3 separate regions of the Homo sapiens genome follow, and all the other regions are linked to region 2. The links are contacts of gene promoters, found by promoter capture Hi-C in blood cells and fetal thymus (Javierre and others, 2016). All regions are on one chromosome and are shown on one strand. The core of a region is centred on a gene start or on the middle of the fragment in contact, and the rest is flanking DNA. Distances in the headings are between cores, read along the strand shown.

Region 1 (2,925 bases), core at 226-2,725, 360 kb after region 2:
GTCACCATTCTCTCTCTCTTTTCATTCGCTGACAAAAAAATCAGAAAAACATCAATAAAAATATAATTTTTATTTACCCACATTACTTTGTCACTATCTTACTTTTCACTGTCATCTTTTCACTTACTTTGTCACTTTTCATCTTACTTTGTCACTATCTTTTATGATGACTTCTCTTGCCAAGATTACCAATGACCTCCTAGACCTTCAATTCAGTAGCTTCTTTTCAGTCCAAATCCTCTGGGACTGCTCTGCAGCACTCTCTTGAAATGGTCCTCTGTCCTACATGGATCACAGATTGCTCTCTCTCTTTCTTTCTCTCTCTCTTCTCTCTCTCACACACACATACTCACATACCACACACACACACTTTAGTTGATCTGTTTGCATATCTCTGTTTTTCTCCATTCCTTTATAAGCCCCTATGTCTTATTCATTTGCATCTCTAGTACCCAGCATAGTGCCTGGCACACAATAGAACTTTGTAACTACGAATGTTACATGATTAAAACCGTCTGGGCTTCCAGGCCATCTCTTTCTTCATCTCCTTTTTCTCTTGACTGCTTGTTCTTAGGCACCTTCACGATCTCCTCTTTGCCTACCCTTTAAATATTCTTCAGAGTAACTCATCCTTATCCACCTTTTGGGCTTCAGCCATCAGCGATTACCTCAATTCCCAAATGTATATTTTCAATTGCCAATGCATTTTTATGAGCTAAGGCTGCCTCTCTCTCCCTAGATGTACTGCAAGCAGATCCCATAAAGACTCATTATCTCTTCCATTCCCAACCTGCCCTCCTCTTGCTTTCAATGTTCAGTCAATGAAATTAACATTCATCCAGTGCTCTAAATGACAAATCTCAAAGTCCCCAAATGCATCTCACTGTCTTTGCCCCCTGTCCTGCAGGGTAAGAAGCTTTATCCATTACCAAATCCCCACCCCCGAACCTGCCTCTGAATCTTTTTTTTTTTTTAATTTATTTCTCCTAGAACAACTTACCCCACTTTGTCCCAAATCATTTTCATCCTTTGAAATTCAGAAAACTGATTAACTTCAATTAATTGCTTCTCTGAGTTCTACATAGCTTGGTGCTAGGTTGTGTTTTTTTAATGACCTGTCTAAACATGTCTTCCTCACTAGATTGTAAAATTCTTGAGGGCAGTTATTGGCTTTTGGTTATGGGGTCTAGCCGATGATTGACATTTTAAGCAATTTTTTTATATGAATGAATGAGTAAACGAGTAAACTGAGAAAGAAAATATTTTCAATTAAACCCTTTCAGAATTACTGTGGCAGAATCTGAGTGAAAATGACAATAACTCAGTTTAAAAACATGAACATCACGTAACCAACTTTGTAACATTCATTGTAACAATACATGCATGATTACAGAAGGCAGGTAATTGTTATTCCCCTAGGGAGATTTTTTTTTAAGCCTGCTCTGAAGATTTTGTTTTGTTTTTAAGACAGGGGCTTGTTCTGTTGCCCAGGCTAGAGTGCAGTGGCGCGATCTCCGATCATTGCAAGCTCCGCTTCCCCGGCTCAGGCTAACCTCCCTCCTCAGCCTCCCGAGTAGCTGGGATTACAGCGTAGCCATGCCAGACTGCCTGCAGAATTTGATTTTAAGCATTTCAGTTCTCAGTATAGACAGACAAATTTTTAAAGGGAGGGTATTATTTTAACTGCTTCTTTGCTCTTTTATCTTTTGTCCTGGGTGACAGGAACTAGATAAGCTATACCCCAGAGAAAGCGCCTGCAGCAGTACGGTGCCTGGGCCCTTGATAGTCCCTCAGCACATCATTTTCCTTTTTCCTACCTTATCTTCCTTTTATATTTGAAGGCTCGTGAATTTAGAGTACCTAACGGAAATTTTAGTTTTAGGATTTCAATTTGACCAAAACAACGCTGAGATTTTAATTGCCTCTATTAACCCATGGCTCTCAAACCCAAAGGAAAGAAACCACTGGAGGGGGTGGGGGAGAAAGGAGGCGGTGCAAAAACTGAAAAGAAAGGCGGAGAGGAAGCGGTAGAAGGAAGCTTTCTCTGTCGGGTTTGTCTTTTTTTAACCCCAGAAAGGCGTGACGTGCTAACTGCCGTCGCGGGTTAGAGTCCGCGGCCAAGCCCGCGCCCGCCCACAAAGTCCCCGCCCTCCCTCCGGCTTCCGCCCCGCCGTGCGCTGCAGGCCGCGGCCGCTGGGGGCGCCCCCGACCCCCGAGGCGCTGAGGCGGCGGTTCCTCGAGCCTCGCCTCTCCCGACTCCCAGACGGGCGGCAGCGGCGGCGGAGGCGGCGGCGGCGGCGGCGGCGAGCTGAGCACCAAAAGGGCGCTCACCTCCCCGGGCGAGCTGCAGCACGACCGCTCCCCGCGGGCGGTCGGGGTCCGCGCCGCAGCTGCCGCCGCGTTCCGGCCCAGGCTGCCGCGAGAGGCGGCGGCAGCGGCCCCGGCCGCGGCCGGCCTGCGGCGCCCCCCGGCCGCGCCCCCGCGCACAGCTCGCGGCCCCGGCCATGGGGCTGGGCTGATCCGGGGCTCGGCCAAGCTGAGGCGGCGGCGCCCGGCCGTGCGCCCAGCTTGCAGGCGCCTGGCTCTCACGATGATGAAGAAGAAGAAGTTTAAGTTTAAGGTGGACTTCGAGCTCGAGGAGCTCTCCTCAGTGCCCTTCGTCAATGGGGTCCTCTTCTGCAAGATGCGGCTGCTGGACGGCGGCAGCTTCACCGCCGAGTCCTCCAGGTAACTCGCCTCCCGCGCCGCCTCGCCCCTTTCTGCTTGGCCAGGGCTTGTTGGATGGGCAGCATCTCTCCTTGGCCCATTTGCTCGCCTTTCCCTAGGGACCGCTCTAAAATCAGTCGAATTTATTGATCTGCAAAGTGCTTTGCAAATGGGTTCTTCTCAGCTGGCCTTGGTTCCTGCGCTCCTGACTCCAGATGG
Region 2 (2,816 bases), core at 317-2,816:
CCACTCTCTAGCCTCTAACCCTGGCATCTGCTGATGCACTGCAGCAAGGTCGTCCCTTTCCTGGGCTGCTTCCAGCCAATGATTGGACATGGTGGGGAACTCCAACTGGGCCATTTCTGGGACAATCAGCACAAAGTACCAAAAGTTGGTTCCTTCAAAGTATGAATAAAATACACAAAACTTTGGCAAGATTGAAGGGGAGAAAAGGATAGATATGAGGAATGAAATAGAGAACCTACCTACAGATTCAGTCAGAAGTGTTATAAAATCATCGGTGAGTATTATGAACCTTGGACAGAACAGGCAGTTTCAAAAAAAATTGTAACTTACTAAATCTGACTCTAGAAGAAACAGTAAACTGAAGAGGCCTATAACTACCAAAGACATTAAAAGAGAAGTGAAATATAACTATATAACAGTTGTTGGCCCTCATAGTAACCTAATCACTTTCCCTCTTTGGATAAGAGAATGCCAGTGTCAGGGAACGCTTCAACAGGGTTGGAGAAGTTCCACATATCTCCACCCTACTAAAGGGGCAGAAGTTCAGGGGCACAGTTAAGATGACTCAGAGAAAATGAAATTGCTCAGTCGCAGGTCAAGTCAACCCTTCAGATCAATTTATGTACCTAGGGCATTAACCTAGGAATGTCTTAAACAATGGAATGCCGCCATTCCTTCTCAACAGGAAGTGGGGGAAACACGCGATTGGTTTTCAAACAGTTTTCAAACAGTAGACAATACACATAGCTGCTGTAACAAAGCAGCTTCGAAAGAGATCGAATGTGTGCGCCTTTATACAAAACTTGGGACCCACTGAAGTCTGACAGCTAAAACGGATTACATGTCTGCAAGGTATTAAAACAGAAAACAAAGAACCTGGGATGGATTCAGGACAAAAGTGTCTTAAAAATTTAACAGTGCCCGTGGGCCAGAGTGTCCACAACACTCATTTTATCTGGACAAATACCAGTAGACTTTCGTATTATGACCCACTTCTGTTACCGGGGTCGCCGGTCGCGGCCCCACGCCCGAGTTTCTGAAGCCACCGGAGCGCTGGGCGCCACAGTTCCTCCTTCCTCTCCTGGCAACGCCTCAAGCCGCCGCCCTCCTCGGTCCTCGCAGTGTCCCCAGCGCCCGCAGCCCTCCCTACGCTCAGGCGGCGCCCCGGCGGCGACCCACCTCCTCGGCGTCCTGGCCCAGAGGGATGCCCAGGTTCCTGAGCCCCTCCTGCAGCTCGCCGATGTCCACCACTCCGTCCCCATTGCGGTCCAGTGCCTGGAAGAGGGTCTCGTAGCGCGTCGGCTGCTCCGCGTCCTGGCAGGCCGCGGTGGGCAGCACGAAGTCCCGCAGCCAGCGCAACATGGTCCCAGAGGCGCAGGCGGCCTGGCCGAGGAAGTCACGGGAGATCGAGGGCTGCGGGGCGAGACCGGGACCAGCGCGAGGCCGGGCTGGGCGGGGCGCGCGGCGCAACAGCGTTTGGGGCGCCGTCGGGGTTGCGGCTGCGGCGCGCAGGGCGCAGGGCGCAGGAGCGGAGACCCCACCCGAGCCCGCGCGGAGCGCAGGGTGTGGCCGTCCCGCCGCTGCTGGGGAGGAGCTCGCCGCGCTGGCCTCGGCGGCACTGGCCGGGCCCGCCTCCAGAGAGCCGGAAGTGAGGGAGCTGGGAGCTGGGTCTCGGGAGGTGCTGTGCGGACCCGGGGTCGACCTCTGCCCAGTTGCCAGTCCCGCTGTCAGCATGCGGGTCCGAGGAAGAGGCCCCCAGCAGGTCCAGGGCTGCAGCGTCAGCGCGTCGGTGGCTTGGGAGCGGGGTCTTGAAGACTGGTTACTCCACTTAAAGACCCTCTCGGGCCGGAGCCTTGGCGGTCAGCCCAGAGCTGCTTCTCTCTGCCTGGAAACTGGGCCATGGAGGGCATTGTCTCTCACGGATGTCTAATTTTTTCGTGGTTGCACACCTGGGATGGCGATTCTGCTTTAAAAAGCAGAGAGTTAAATCCTAAAGCATCTATTGGAGCAATTATAAAACAAAAAGGAGAAACTCCTGGATTTGTTGCAGAAAAGATCAACAGCCATCTGCGTGGGCAACGGGGAAAAGAAGGACTAGTTTGGTAGGCAGCTTAGCTAGGATTTGCCCGTGATTAAGCGTATAGAGTGTCTGCCAGCTGCACTTATCAGAAAAAACCACAGCGCCCTCCTCCTTCTCAAGATGGGTGCAGTTCCGAGGTTTGGAGCTTATTACTCAGGCAAGACAGAACTTATTACTGCCTAGCATGGAATAACGGAAGGAACATTGGACTTAACAGAGAAAGTACCTAATCCTTCAGGTGTGACATAGCGTCTCCGGGTAGTCTCTCATCAGTAAAATGAGAATATAAATATCTGCCTTCACAACAAAGTTGTATATTAGGTGTGAAAGGTCTTAATTCTCTAAGGCGCCAATCAAATGAGATATCATTAATTGTAATAATCCTGTTCATTCACAGCTGCGTAAGAGGAACTATTGTTGTACTGCTGTTTGCAGAAAAGAAGATACCTCTGTACTTGTAAATTAGGGTGTCTCACATCTTCTGAATCACTACACAGAAATCAGTTCCAACAACAGCCAGGAACTCAGACCCTGAACTTACCTCTCCTCATATCATTTTGTATGTTTAAGATATGTATGAATCTAGAATTTGTAAATTAAGGGCTGCCTGCTTAGTAAAATCATCTTGAAACTGATTTATCTTTTTATATTACTTCCAACTTCCAGTCTTATTAAGAATCATTGCCTTCCTTTGGAACTGCCTTCAAACTTCAAATTTTCTCTGTCCTTGAAAACC
Region 3 (2,700 bases), core at 55-2,554, 460 kb after region 2:
ACCATGCACAGCTAATTTTATTTTTTGTAGACACAGGGTCTCACTATGGTGCCAGGCTGGTCTCAAGCTAGCCACCTGCCTCAGCCTCCCAAAGTGCCGGAATTACAGGTGTAAACCATTGCACCCGGCCCATTATCATCTAATTTTAAAAGAACCACAATACCTGTGGCTACAATACCAGTTTGCCTGATATTCTAACTAAATGCTCTAGAAGTACGGTACCTACAAGATCACATCCAACTATAAAATCTTAAGATTTTCTTCACATTTGAACCTGACAATGCTGAATTCTGTCTGAGCCCTGTGTTTCTGGCATCTGCTAAAGGAATCCACCTGTGCTTTGTGTTCCAGGAAAGGGCTCACTGCAAAAAACCACCCTCCTCCATAAAACTTAGATAAGATTCCTTGTGTTTCCATTCTTTGCCTCAAATGATTATCATGAATACTTGTCCCCACTGATCAATGGGAAGAAAATTCCTTTTTTAACCATACTTTATTCAAACTTTACTTCTTCCCCCAGGGCCCTGCACTACAGCCTGAGGAAACAGCCCCCTCCTTAAGGCTCCCCATTCCACTGTCCTTTCAAACCACCCTCTCATCCCACCTCCCTAGTTTCTAGCTTTGTTCACTTCTCCAGTAAAAGAAAAACCCCTTTTGCTTAACTCTTGAGACACCTGCAGATCTTGTGGTTACGGCATTCTCCCTATTGCAATAACCCCTGTGAAAAGTCTCTCCATACTAATCCATTTGACAAAACACCTCATATGACTAGTCTACTAGTCTTAATAATTAAATGTTTGGAAAGAGAAATACCTACCTTCTTAGGCTCATGTTGATCCACTAAATTTTTAACGAACTGGTACCGCTGTCTGTATAGTGGAGGTTTAAACTGAATTGCCGTCTCCCTGGGAACTTCTTCAAAATTACCGTCAACCACACTACTGCACTGAAGTTCACAAACAAAAAAAGACAGGTTCTAAATCATGCATGACTTCAGAAATTAAATAAGGGGCAAAAAAAAAAAAACTTTATTTCCCCCAATCACTTTGAAAAACACACTGGCCTTCACATACCCTTTGTCCTAAAATCATTAGGTAGCACTGCATTTCCTCCACAGTTCATGTAAGCATCCTCTCATGCCTTTTAACAAGAGAGAATCTAGCTGTATGCTCCCTATAGCTTAGTTTCAGCTGAAGGGAACATTACCAATGAATGTATTCAATGAAAACAATTAGATGACTCCTAACCATAAGGGACCTTTTGTGGAGTGAGTCGCCAAAGCCTGTGGTCCAAGTAGGCAGGAGGCTGGAAAATATTTATAATGACTGACTATATATATATACACACACACATATATATACACACACACACACACATATATGTACACACACTTACACACACACACATATATATACACACACACACACATATATATGTACACACACACACACACACACACACATATATACACACACACACACACACATATATATATATATATTTTTTTTTTCCCCCCAAGACGGAGTCTTGCTCTGTCACCCAGGCTGGAGTGCAGTGGCGCGATCTCAGCTCACTGCAACCTCCGCCTCCCTCAATTCAAGCAATTCTCCTGCCTCAGCCTCCCGAGTAGCTGGGATTACATTACAGGCATGCGCCACCATGCCTGGCTAATTTTTGTATTTAGTAGTGACGGGTTTCACCATGTTGGCCAGGCTCTTCTTGAACTCCTGACCTCGTGATCCACCCGCCTTGGCCTCCCAAAGTGCTGGGATTACAGGTGTAAGCCACCACACCCAGCCAACACTCTTTTTAAGAGAGAGAGAGGATCTCACTATGTCGCCCAGGCTGGTTTAAAATTCCTGGGCTCAAGCAATCCTCTGGCCTCGGCCTCCTGAGTAGTTGGGCATCTGTAGGAACATTCCAACACACCAGCAAAAGACTCTCTCACTGACCAAACTTCAGTCAGGTTCCTCTGAGCCATCTTCTTGAATAGACCTCAAACCCTGGCCCCAATCCTATCTTTGGGCTGCCTAGCCCAGTTTTAATAAGAATACTTCTAAGTCAGTTTAGACAGAATCTTCTACCCCTGATATCTGATCACCCTATCTGGTCAAATTCTTCATCTTTGCAATGTTCTTATTGCAACAGTCCTCAATAAAGTCAGACTAATTTTTTCTTTAACATGACCCCAAGAAAAAACAGAATTTATAAGATTAATCTGTAATAGCTGTTACTATTCCTATACAGCAGTATTATAAAAGTAGTCCAAAGGGTATTTGATATCTGATGTAGCACTGTCCAATAGATAAAATACAAGTAGGCAACTTTCTTGTAGCCCAAGAATTGGAATTATAATCGGAATTAGAATATTTAAACCAATATATCGAAAATATAATTTTTACATAAAATCAATATAAGAGATTTTAGATTCTTGTTTTTCACATTAAGTCTTCAAAATCCAGTGTGCTACATATTTTGTACTTCTGCGTCTCAGTTCCAAAACCTTCATCAGAAATACTTGTCTGTATTGGATTTAAAAACTTTACATTTAAAATATACATGCACATACCCAAGTTATTCCAAACATACTTTTTTCCAATAATGTAATCAAATATCCAATTTTAAACTTAAAATTAAAAATGAAGTTATGAGCCCAGGTGGTCAGCGTTGCAGTTAACCGTGACTGGGCAAGTGCATTCC

The links. The method cuts DNA at HindIII sites, captures the fragments that hold promoters and counts their contacts. A CHiCAGO score of 5 or more calls a contact.
Region 1: a contact is called between a fragment that was not itself captured here and the fragment with the promoter of SLC25A24 in region 2, in 3 of 17 cell types (total CD8 T cells, M0 macrophages and naive CD4 T cells). The highest score is 8.3, in total CD8 T cells.
Region 3: a fragment that was not itself captured here is called in contact with the fragment with the promoter of SLC25A24 in region 2 in 1 of 17 cell types (non-activated CD4 T cells); the score reaches 5.3 in non-activated CD4 T cells.

The regions. Positions count from the first base shown.
Region 1 is chr1:108,557,839-108,560,763 of GRCh38, forward strand. It overlaps EEIG2 (EEIG family member 2), which reads left to right and starts at 2,262. Exons shown (of 11, transcript NM_001010883.3): 1 at 2,262-2,727. The coding sequence starts at 2,591. RefSeq lists a silencer at 1,923-2,462 and an enhancer at 2,853-2,925. The HindIII fragment of the contact is 1,122 bases long and covers 915-2,036 here.
Region 2 is chr1:108,198,777-108,201,592 of GRCh38, forward strand. SLC25A24 (solute carrier family 25 member 24) reads right to left here and starts at 1,567. Exons shown (of 10, transcript NM_013386.5): 1 at 1,180-1,567. The coding sequence starts at 1,362. RefSeq lists a silencer at 1,351-1,690 and an enhancer at 1,491-1,785. The HindIII fragment of the contact is 7,151 bases long and covers 1-2,816 here.
Region 3 is chr1:108,656,634-108,659,333 of GRCh38, forward strand. It overlaps HENMT1 (HEN methyltransferase 1), which reads right to left. Exons shown (of 8, transcript NM_001102592.2): 3 at 818-946. Among named protein-coding and RNA genes, the nearest start is that of HENMT1, 3.1 kb to the right of the region's middle. The HindIII fragment of the contact is 3,179 bases long and covers 1-2,700 here.